Linked DNA regions of Homo sapiens: region 2 is linked to region 1. The links are contacts of gene promoters, found by promoter capture Hi-C in blood cells and fetal thymus (Javierre and others, 2016). All regions are on one chromosome and are shown on one strand. Each heading gives the region's core, a stretch centred on a gene start or on the middle of the fragment in contact. The rest is flanking DNA. Distances are from core to core; before and after follow the strand shown.

What was found. The method cuts DNA at HindIII sites, captures the fragments that hold promoters and counts their contacts. A CHiCAGO score of 5 or more calls a contact.
Region 2: a contact is called between a fragment that was not itself captured here and the fragment with the promoter of EVI2A in region 1, in 1 of 17 cell types (M0 macrophages). The highest score is 5.2, in M0 macrophages.

What each region holds. Positions count from the first base shown.
Region 1 is chr17:31,318,014-31,323,885 of GRCh38, forward strand. It overlaps EVI2A (ecotropic viral integration site 2A), which reads right to left and starts at 3,609. Exons shown (of 2, transcript NM_014210.4): 1 at 3,482-3,609; 2 at 1-1,010. The coding sequence starts at 1,000. The coding sequence ends at 290. All of the region lies in intron 36 of NF1 (neurofibromin 1), which reads left to right. RefSeq lists enhancers at 438-487, 698-757. The HindIII fragment of the contact is 8,918 bases long and covers 1,584-5,872 here.
Region 2 is chr17:30,949,317-30,955,188 of GRCh38, forward strand. It overlaps ADAP2 (ArfGAP with dual PH domains 2), which reads left to right. Exons shown (of 11, transcript NM_018404.3): 7 at 1-54; 8 at 3,972-4,034; 9 at 5,162-5,239. Among named protein-coding and RNA genes, the nearest start is that of RNF135, 19 kb to the right of the region's middle. The HindIII fragment of the contact is 2,387 bases long and covers 1,754-4,140 here.

The sequences.
Region 1 (5,872 bases), core at 2,359-4,858:
TATCCCTTGCTATCTCTATTAATCAGTTTCCTCAATTTATCCTTAAAATTTTCCTCAAATGCTTAGTTATTTTATTATTTGCTTTTTAAAATATTCAGTGTCAAAACAAAAGTACACAGTTTAAATAATTAAGCAGGCATACTTCTCCCTGTCTCACCTGCTTGATTCTAAATTGCAAGGTCTACCATGTCAAATTTTAGATAATCAGAACAACACTTTGGGATTAAATACCAACTGACTTCATTTTTACTCCATAAGCCTTCTCATTGCTACTTTGCATTTTTCTTCACTAACCTATCTGTTTGTTAGTAAGTTTTTCAGTTCCTTCTTCATCTTTTCTTTCCCTTGTAGCTGTGAGCACTCCAGTAGATTGCATCACTAGGTTGGGTCCTGTGAGCTGTTTTGTTCTTTTCCAAGTGTCTGATTCAGCGGGCCATAGACCGCTTGCCAGAAAATCGCCATTGCTTCTAGGCTGACGCTTGCCTACTTGTTTTGATCGTCTGAGAGAAGAGACTTTGTTTGCCAAAACCACAGTTGATAGAAATAGAAAGGTACAGATAAGAAAAAGCACTGCAATTATAATTAAGCAAATTAGCATAGCCATGTTGTTGTTGTTTTCCGCACAGACATCCTTTTTGAAAATTTCACCATGACTTTTGCTTGTGTTTTCAATGCTCTGTACTGTTGAAGGACTGTTGCTGACGACAGAAGGTATATAAAGCTCCTGTTCAGATTTAGAAGTTAAAGCTACGATGTGAGATGTTTCAGGCATGTTTGTAGAATTACCTTTATAATCTACTTCAGGAGTTATAGGGTTTGTGTTAATGTTTTCATTTTGGTTTCTGCCTGTCTTGTTTTGAATAACTGAATCCCAGGAAGAAGTACTGTTAGCCCACAGACGGGTATAGTTTGCTTTTGTTCCAGGAGACAAAGAAAAAACTGTTGTCATCAGAAAGGCAAGATGTAGGTAATGTCCTGTGTGTTCCATGTCCGTGGGCATGCTTGGCAATCTGTTGGGATAGCAATATAATTTGTTAGTTTGTGAAAGAATAATGGATCCTAGTTTTGGTAATTGTAGTTAAAAGATAGTGTTGAGATGTTACAAGTAAACTACAAGCTTATGCCTAATATTCGCTACCCTGAATTCCTTCTCAACTAAATTTCTTTTCTATTCAGCTATGTATGAAGAAGCATTTTAATTTCTATTAACACTTTTAGATGCTAGAAGTTAGCATTACAAATAAATATTAATCATTTTAAGTGGACTATCATGGCTTTATATAGTTTTCTTCCTTTGAAGCGTGCTAGACTTCTGCTTTGAGTCAGTTAGTTCTGCTTTTACTTTTCTGATTCCTTCTTTAAAAAAAAAAAAAAATTAAGGATCATTCTTACAGAAACTACCCACCCTCTAACCTGTCACCAATCTTTACAGAAGAAATGTGGCCTTGAGCTTCTTGCTTCATGTATGAAATAAATGCAAATTTTTTTGGTGGAAAGAGGGGAAGTTTGGTAGCAACCAAAAGAAACTGAACTTCAAATAGAAATTCAAGGTGTTCTTTTTTTTTCTTGGGTGTTCATCTTGAAGCTTAGAATAAAGCTGGTACTTAGAAATACATTTGTAAGTGTATTTGTGAACGCAATTTTACTGTGGTGGTTGTCTCTTTTCATTTATATTTCCCTGGACTGACTGTGTCTTTCTGAAGGCAAAGGCATACCAGTTTTCTCAACCTAAAAATCTGAAGAAAAAAAAAAAAAAACAGCAAATTTCCTCTGAGTAGACTTAAAAGTTCAACAAAAGTTGCTGGGTTTTCTTTTAAAGCATCATTTATACCTAGCATTTTTTCTGATTTTGACATAATTGTAAAAAAAAATGTGTAATAAAATAGAAATAGAGCATCAGGATCTTGATGATTTGGGATGAAGTGGCAGGTTATAAGCATCTCAACAGATAATTGAAAATGTTGAATTTCCGCTTTGGCCCTGAGCTTGCTGGAAACTAGTACAAAAAGGAGACAAGTTATATTATACATTTTTTAAATCTACCAAATGATTGATTTAAATAGAAATGGCATATCTTAGAATTTAACAGTTCCATGTACTGCTAACCCAGCAGGAAAGATTTATAATCATTATTAAGGTATCTTATAATAATATACCAGTTTGTCTTGAGCTACTTTTGAAAGGAGTATTTTATTGTTAGCATTTATTTGAATGAACTAAAAGCAAAACTATATTGTTCTCCTGAGATTTACTAAATGAAATTGCCTGGTTAAGAACCCTACGTATGCTATAGAAATTCTTCTCAAATGTACTTAGGAGTCCTTTTATTTAAAAAAAAAAAAAAAAGGCAGATTCTTACCTAGCTAGTATAGGTAGGGCCTGAAAGTCTTTGTTTCCAAACCAACTCCTAAGCAACATGGATGCCACTGCTAGTCAGGCTTTTGAACATCAAGGTTTTATAAGAAATGGTTGTTATATGTCATTGGCTGACATTTGTATACTATTAAAATACAGAAATTGAAAATAAGAAATGTGATACGTTGAGTTATGCAAACAAAAGTAGCATGTAATAAACAATGCTAACTGGAGACTATATTTCATATTAATAGTAGGGAGGAAAAACTATTAAATATTCCAGGATTAAGATTACTTTTTAGATTATGACCTTTAGTAGACAATTAAAGGCCCAAGTCACTGGCTTTTGTATAATAGTGTTCAGCTTTAATTTTTAAGTTTAGTGACATAAATCTTTGGATATTTCATGATTCTTCCACAAAAAGAAATACTTGAAATTGGATTAGCAAGTAATTTCCATCTTTTTATACTAGACTGGACTTCTGTATTAGATGCTAGAATGATTTAAAGTAGATTATTCTTTTCACATTAGTTCATTAACAGTGTAGTATACATCATAGTATTGGTACACATTTTAACAGTGCTTACCACGGAACAGATAATAGGCCTGCTGTTGATTGTCTTCAGCCAGATGTACTGCAGTGCCCAAATAAACAAACTGTATGACAAAATGAGACTTTCTCTTGCCCTTACAAATGCCTGAGAATTGAGGACTGTTTTTACTCCAGTTTATGCCTTGGAGGCCAGGTTGTGTTATCAGAAGTTTTCTTATATCTGATCATTTTCAGTAGAATTTATTTTCAGTAGAATTTGTAATGTCCAAGCATTAGTAATGAGAAATTTATTTTTTAACTTTTGAAAAATAACAAAACATTTCCAGTTTACTTGAGGAAACCAAACTTAGATCCTTCGTAATCCTAATTTAAAACTCCATGGCGATGGCAAATTTTTTCATTTCTAACTTAAAATTTATGTAACAGGACAGAAAAAAAAAGTATACATTTTCAGTCACAATTCTAGTTTGTTAGTGAGATTCTTACACACTTTGATAGCATTTCCTCGAACACTAATCTGTCAGACGTTAGAAGTGAAAAGGCATAAGAAAAGCCGTATATATATGACCTACCTTACAAAATGCTTGGTCAAAATCTGATTATAACGTGATTTTGATAAACCACTTCTTTTCTTGTCTTCTTTTTAAAGCAGAATAGACTTGGAGAATATGAGCCTTAAAGTAAATCTGCAGTAAAAAAGGATATGTGCAGCTAGTTTTCCACTTTTAAAACCAAACCACAGATGACACATTTCCTTTCCACTGCAACTAAAGCACATGTCACAGGAGGGAAAAAAAAAAAAACAACGAAAAAGCTCCAACTTCTCTAGTTGGCCACTGGCATGACAGGAGGCTTTGTAGAACCAATCCCCGCCTCCAGAGCAGGGAGGGTTTTCCACTTAATGCCTTTTGACAGTATGCTCATTCTATAGGCCTGCTACATGCTTTAGTGTCATTCAAAAGAGGTTTTGAAATGGTATCTTCCATTTCAAATCTTCTCTAAAAGACTTATTTGAAATCTACAGACTGATTTGAAAATGTGAGTTTGGAGTCCATGGGATACTGATCAGATAATGTAACAATTGTGGAACTGCAGCAATTATTTGAGAAAATATCTAGTAAACTTAGATTATATGGGACAGAAAATGCTTTCGTGTGGTGTAGTGTGTGTATACACACACACACACACACACACACACACACACACAACTGTCAAACATCCTGTCATCACCTCAAGTTTAACATGACTGAAACAGACTTTAAGAACTAGGTATGGGCTGAACACGGTGGCTCACACCTGTAATCCCAGCACGTTGGGAGGGTTGACGCAGGCAGATCACTTGAGGCCAGGAGTTCAAGACCAGCCTGGCCAACATAGAGAAAACCTGTCTCTACTAAAAATATAAAAATTAACCAGGCAGGGTAGCATGCACCTGTAGTCCCACCTACTTGGGAGGCTGAGACAGGAGAATAGCTTGAACCCGGGACGTGGAGGCTGCAGAGATCATGAGATCTTGGCTGCATGAGCTAAGATCATGCCACTGCACTCCAGCCAGGAAGACAGAGTAAGACTCTGTCTCAAAAAAAAAAAAAAAAAAAAAAAAAAAAAAAAAAAGAACTGGATATGGCAGCACATATCTGTAATCCCAGCTACTAGGTAGGTTGAGGTAGGAGGATCACTGGTGGAGCCCAGGAGTTCAAATCCAGCCTGGGTAACATAGCAAGACTCCATCTCTTAAAAATTAATTAAATTAATGAAATAAAAAGAACTTTATTTTTTCTTTAAAGGAGGCTGCCTGTGACAGTCTTCTTGTTTCTGTTCATGATAGCAACATTCTAATATCAGAGGCTTAGTATACAACACATCATTTTAATTTAAGTCCTCTCAGTCCTGATCAGACTTTGAATCATGTTGGTCCTTCCTTCATATTGTTGGATCAGTTTCTTTTTCCCTGTTTTTACTGTCAACAGTACTATTTTAGATCCTTATCAGGTCATACCTAGACTCTACAGTGCCTTTTCGGTAGCCCTGAATCCTTCTTATATCTTGTATACATCACTGTCTTTGGTCATACCACCCTTTCTTTAAGGGAAAATAAAACCGGTTGAACAGTTCCCTAATACATACAACAATGATTCAGAAATGTTTGTGTACATAAACATCAGATGAGAAGATTGTTTAAAAATTATAAAAGCAGGACATGGTGGCTCACACCTGTAATCTCAGCACTTTGGGAGGCTGAGGCGGGAGGATTACTTGAGCCACAGAAATTCGAGACCAGCCTGGGCAGCATGGCAAAATCCTGTCTCTACAAAAAATACAAAAAAACAAAAACAAAAAACTAGCCGGGCATGGTGGCGCTTATCTGTAGTCCCAGCTACTCAGGAGGCTGAGGTGGGAGGATCACCTGAGCCTGGGGAGGTCAAGGCTACAGTGAGCTGTGACCGTGCCACTGCAGTCCAGCCTGAGTTAAGGGAAAAAAAAAAAAGATAAAAATTTCCAGGCCCCACTACATAGATCCATATTTAGTAGGTCCAGGTTGGGACCAGGAAACTGCATTTTTATCAAGCACCACAGTTGATTCTGACGCCAGTAGTCCACAGAACATATGCTGAGAAATGGTGAGCCCCTAGTAGAAAACCTAAGCCCTTTGGTTGGGCAGTTATGGTCTCTCCACAATTTGACTATTCTGTATTTTCCCAGCTTTATCTCTCAAAACTTCTCTACCTGAATCCTCCATTCTGGCTAGACTAGCTGTCTCTTCAACACATCTAGTTACCTGTTTCTTTTCCTTTTTGCCTTTCTCCATAAGGCCTGCCCAGTCCTCTTGCTGAGTCTGCATTCCTCCTTACCTGATTCAGCCACTGTATCTTCTATGTAGCTTTCACTGACTGCCCAGTTTGTGTTAATCTCTCTCTCTCTCTCCTTTGTCTTAATAACAGTATTTTCTCTGCATTTCCTTT
Region 2 (5,872 bases), core at 1,697-4,196, 370 kb before region 1:
GCAGCCCGTCTGCAGTACCTAAAAATGGCCTTTCCTGAACTCCCAGAGTCTGAGGTGAGCTAAATGCGGACCCCAATTTCTGAATCTCCTCTTGGCCATCTCCTTCTTTCCCTGTCTGTTGACCTCGAAGACACTCAGAAGCCAGACTAGGGCTGGGCGCGGTGGCTCACGCCTGTAATCCCAGCACTTTGGGAGGCTGAGGCGGGCGGATCACAAGGTCAGGAGATCGAGACCATCCTGGCTAGCACGGTGAAACCCCGTCTCTACTAAAAATACAAAAAAATTAGCCAGGTGTGGTGGCAGGCGCCTGTAGTCCCAGCTACTTGGGAGGCTGAGGCAGGAGAATGGTGTTAACCCGGGAGGCGGAGCTTGCAGTGAGCCCAGATGGCGCCGCTGCACTCCAGCCTGGGTGACAGAGTGAGACTCCGTCTCAAAAAAAAAAAAAAAAAAAAAGAAGAAGAAGCCAGACTAGTTTTGTTTGCAGGCAAGACCTCGAGGTTGAGGGCTGGGCTGCTCAGAGGGAAGCCCAAGGCATTCTCCAGGGGAGCCTGCGGGGGTTACAGCCTCACATACGACAAGGCGGCCTCCCAAAAGCTGGTCAGTGTCTCCCCTTCAGAAGAGTGTCAAGGGGCTCAGCAATTGGTCATCTCTTTCTGAACCCTTCTCCCTCTAAAATGTACAAATGATCCCTAACATACTGCTTACAGAGTGCTTTGAGCCCATTTTGTCTTGTGAAATGGCAGCCAGGCAGGGGTGATTATTTCCATTTCACTGATGAGTTATACAGTCCCAGGAAGGGCAGGTGAATAACCAAAGGTGTGCTTCCCTTTCTAAAATCCCCTCTTTGCCCTGTGATGCTCTGGGCTTGGGAAAGCCTGGGATCCTCTCCATTACAGTTGTAACAGGAGCAGGTATGCCCTTCATGGCCAACATCATGGGGAGCCGAGAACTTCATTTTGATTGTCTCCAGACTTCTGGGGCCTTCATCTCCCTATCTCAGGCTGGGCCAGGGAGACCCGCATGGTGTAGGGCAGAGGATGCTGTCTCGAGCCAGGAAGCCTGGGCTCTCAGGGATGCTCTATTGCTCACTTGCTGTGTGACCCCTGCAGGTCCTGGCACCCCTCTGAGCTTCTATTTCCATATGGGTAAGATGGCGGTTAGTCCAGGTCATCTTCAGGGTCCCTTCCGCCTCTGAGATTCTATGCTCTGGTCCTCTTCAAGAGGCTCCCCTCCAAGAGGATTTTATAAGTGATGGGGCTGGAAAACCATTTTAATGCTGGGATTTTCTTAATCTCAACCATTAGAGTTTCCTTGAAAGCCTAAATGCTCCTTAATTCCAAGGTTTGTAGGGAGCCAGTTGTCTGGAATAGGGTCCCCTCCAGGCCCAGGGATGTGCTGAGATGGCAGCTCTCTGGGAGCAATTCCAGCAAGGCCCGAGTCAGAGCCCTTGAGTCAGTCTGCTGAGTTTGCACCCAGAACTGGTTAATGCTGGCTCCCATGGGCGGGGAGTGGAGACTGCTGACTGCTGACTATGAGGAGGGAGGACAAAGTGCAGATGCTCAGCCTTATTTAATCTGGGCAAGCTGCCCATCTTTGCTGACATGTGTAAAGGAAATTGCTCTTTGGTCAACATCCTCAATGTTCCCCTGCCTCTCTCATCCACTGTCGGTACCTGATATCCATCCCGTGTCTTTCCTCCCATTTAATGTCTGTGTATGGTGTGAGGTTCTGAGCAATCACCAGGCCTGGCTCAAGCTTTAGGGGTCCACATGTTGGAAACCCAGGGCATCCCAGTGGGGTCTGTGGTCCTGTAATAAATGCATATGGTCTCTTGGACTTCAGAGAAAGTAGGTTTTGTCGCCATGGTGACAGATGAGTGCATCGAGGCTCAGAGAGGTGAGGTGACTTGCCTAGGTGATAGTACCTACTTTCTAGGGCTATTGTGAGACTCCAGCGAGCCAAGGCATCAGAAGTACAGGAAGCAGTGCTCCAGCCATGTGACTTTCCTTTTTTTCCCAATGGTTTCCCTAGGCCTCTGCTTGCTCTGTGCTGGCTCAAATTCCGAATATTGAGCAGTTCGGGACTCCATCTGTTTTCTCCAAATGGAACAATTAAAGCCTAGTGAATGTATTTTAAGAGAAGGGGAGTAGTACAGTTTATATCTTGTTTCTTACATTAAAAATTTTTTTTTAATTTTTTATAGAGATGATGTCTCACTTATGTTGCCCAGGCTGGTCTCGAACTTCTGGCCTCAAGCAATCCTCCTACCTCGGCCTCCCAAAGTGCTGGGATTACAGGTGTGAGCCACTGCATCTGACCAATATTTTCTTTTCTTTTCTTTTTTTTTTTTTTTTTTTGAGACAGAGTCTCGCTCTTTCGCCCAGGCCAGAGTGCAGTGGCGCCATCTTGGCTCACTGCAAGCTCCGCCTCCCAGGTTCACGCCATTCTCCTGCCTCAGCCTCCCGAGTAGCTGGGACTACAGGCGCTCGCCACTGCACCCGGCTACTTTTTTGTATTTTTAGTGGAGACGGGGTTTCACCGTGTTAGCCAGGATGGTCTCGATCTCCTGACCTCGTGATCCACACGCCTCGGCCTCCCAAAGTGCTGGGATTACAGGCGTGAGCCACTGCGCCTGGCCTAATATTTTCATTTTTGGCTCACAAATTTCCCCCTTTTAAACTTCCCATAGCTGTTCCCCAGACCTCACTTCCCCTGTGCCTCTGCCCTGGGCCCTGGAGCTCTGGAGAAGCCTCTCTGTTCTTTGAAGCCTGGACTGTCATTTGAAGCTCTAGACTTTCCAGGTTGATGCCTAGGAGCATAGGAGGCCATCATCAACCCCTGGAAACATCTCTGGGCGTAGGCTGCCAGGCTGGAAGGGATGCTGGGGATCACATGATCCAGGCTGTTTATCACACAGGGGAGACATAAGGCCTCGAGAGACAGAAGGTCTTAACAAAGGTAATGCAGCTGATGGAGGCCAGAACTGGAATTAGAACCAGGTCTCCCGACTTCTGCTTCAGAACTTTCTCTGTCCACTCTGGCATCATTTTCTTTTCTTTTTTGTTTTGTTTTGTTTTGAGATGGAGTCTCCCTCTGTCACCCAGACTGGAGTGCAGTGGCACTATCTCAGCTCACTGCAACCTCTGCCTCCCAAGTTCAAGGGATTCTCTTGCCTCAGCCTCCTGAGTAGCTGGGATTACAAGCGCGTGCCACCATGCCCAGCTAATTTTTATATTTTTGGTAAAGGTGGGGTTTCGCCATGTTGGCCAGGCTAGTCTCAAACTCCTGGCCTCAAGTGATCTGCCTGCCTTGACCTCCCAAAGTGCTGGGATTACAGGTGTGAGCCACTGCACCCAGCCTCTGGCCATTATTTTCTTGTTGCTTGGTGTCAGAATCCTGACCAGGCCTTTCCCAAGGTCCTGCTCAGAGGGCCCTGGCATATTTATACTTTAGCACCTAGTGTAGTGGTAGGAGTACAGTCTAGTGTCATTGGCCCTGGGCCTGAATCTCAGCTCTTTGTGCTACCAGTGATGTGACTTTGGGAAAATCCCCAGCCCCTTCTCTGTGGCCTGGTTTCTTCAGATGTGTAATGAGGCTGGTGATACCCACCTCGCAGGGTGATTGAGAATTGCACCTGGAGCCTGATGCAAAGTGGACCCTCAGAACATGTTGCCTGACACCAAGAGGGTCTCTGCAGAGCCTTGCCTATGTCCACACCCTGGGGTTACTGAAGGAATCCTTAAACCAAAACTCGGCCGTGCCACTAAGCTCTGCAAACATCTGGGGTGCTGTCGACTGGCTTTGTTGAAATATTAATATTATGACCATTGCACTTTCCAAATATAATACTGTGAGCCATGAGCGTACATCCTTCCCCATTTCAAACTTCCCCTTTGTCGGGAGCCAAGCTCGGCGGGAACCTGGAGCCTTGGGGTGTGAGTTGGGGGTCAGTGTCTGTCTCTCTTCCCCAGCTCGTGCCATTCCTCACCAGGAACTACCTCAAACAAGGCTTCATGGAAAAGACTGGGCCAAAGGTACCTTCTATCACTCCCTGGGGAACTTAATATGGTTTAATGTATATAGAAGGTTTCATGTGTTTATGGGATGATTGTTAAGAGGACAGTGAAAGGTGTTAGGCCAAGCTTGTCCAACCCACAGCCCATGGGCCACATGCAACCCAGGACGGCTTGGAATGATGCCCAACAGAAATTCATAAACTTTCTTTTTTAAATTTTTTTGAGACAGAGTCTTGCTCTGTCACCCAGGCCAGAGTACAGTGGTGTGATCTCGGCTCACTGCAACCTCCGCCTCCCAGATTCAAGCGATTCTCCTGCCTCAGACTCCTGAGTAGCTGGGATTACAGGTGCCCACCACCATGCCCGGCTAATTTTTGTAATTTTAGTAGAGATGGGGTTTCACCATGTTGGCCAGGCTGGTCTCGAACTCCTGACCTCAAGCGATCTGCCCACCTCAGCCTCCCAAAGTGCTGGGATTACAGGCATGAGCCACCATGCCCAGCCAAATTCGTGAACTTTCTTAAAACATTATGAGATATTTTTGCGATTTTTTTTTTTTGGCTCATCAGCTATCATTAGTGTTAGTGTATTTTATGTGTGGCCCAAGACAATTCTTCCAATGTGGCCCAGGGAAGGCAAGAGATTGGATATTCCTGTGTTAGGCAATCATGAAAGCAAGCCTTGGGCAGGTGGAAAAAGCAGTCAAAGGGTTGTTTTCAGAGAGGCGCAGCCCCTCCGCCTGGTTCTTGTTGCTGGGCTTTCTCTCCCTGACCTAGGTTAGAATTTGGCCAAGGCCAGCACTTTCAGCCTTGCCAAGCAGTAGCCACTTCTGATTTTTTCCAACTTCCTTTCCGGCTTCTTTGTCTACAGCCTGAAAAAGAGGAAGGTGCCTCTTCCAAGTTGAGGCAGCAGGGTGAAGCTGGCAAAGGGTATGGTGGGGTTGGAAGGGGAATGGGCAGAACCTTCAGAGCCTGAGGGCTCCTATCCAGGCCCCAGGGAGAAGCACTAGGATGTCTGACTGAGGAGGCTGGGCTGGAGAACCAGTGGGACTGGCCAGCTCCTTTGGTTTGGGCTGGGCTGGCCCCTGACCTCTATCCTCAGAAACTGACCTGGTCATCTGTGGTAAGAAGTTCCCTCTTTTGCAGCAGAAAGAACCTTTCAAGAAAAGGTGGTTCGCCCTGGATTGCCATGAGCGGAGGCTGCTCTATTACAAGAACCCACTGGTAAGAGCCACTCCTGCTCCCTCCCCAGGGCTTCCTCAAACATTGCTGGGTGGTGCTTGTCTGGAACTATGTGAAAGCTACAGATAAACACATCTCCCAGAGCCCCAGAGCTAGAGAAACCTTGAGAGGAAAACCTCTACCCCTTGTTTTTGTTTCTCTTGAGTAATCTCCTATGGCATGAAGCTTCTCCTCGCTTTCAGGAAGTCTATTATGAGTATCCAAAATGCTGCCCATGGTAGTTAAATATGGTGTATCTCTTCCTCTAGTCTCCAGGGCTCACTTCTAACCAAGAGGCCGTGATGTGTAGTAGTTAGGAGTGTGGTGGACTCTAGAACCCCACCGTCTGGGCTCTGGTCTCAGCCCTGCCACTTGTAGTAGTGTTGCCTTGAGCCGTGTACTTAGTGCTCTGTGCCTCGGTTTCCTCCTCTGAAAAACAGGCTTAATAAGAATGCCTTCCCCAGAGGTTGCCATGATGGTTATTTAAGTTACTATATATAAAGCATTGTAATTCCTGATGCTGATTTTAATAAGTGCTCCGTAAATGTTAGGTATCACTTATTTTTTTTTTTTTAGAGACAGAGTCTCTCTCTGTCACCCAGGCTGGAATGCAGTGGCACAATCACAGCTCATTGC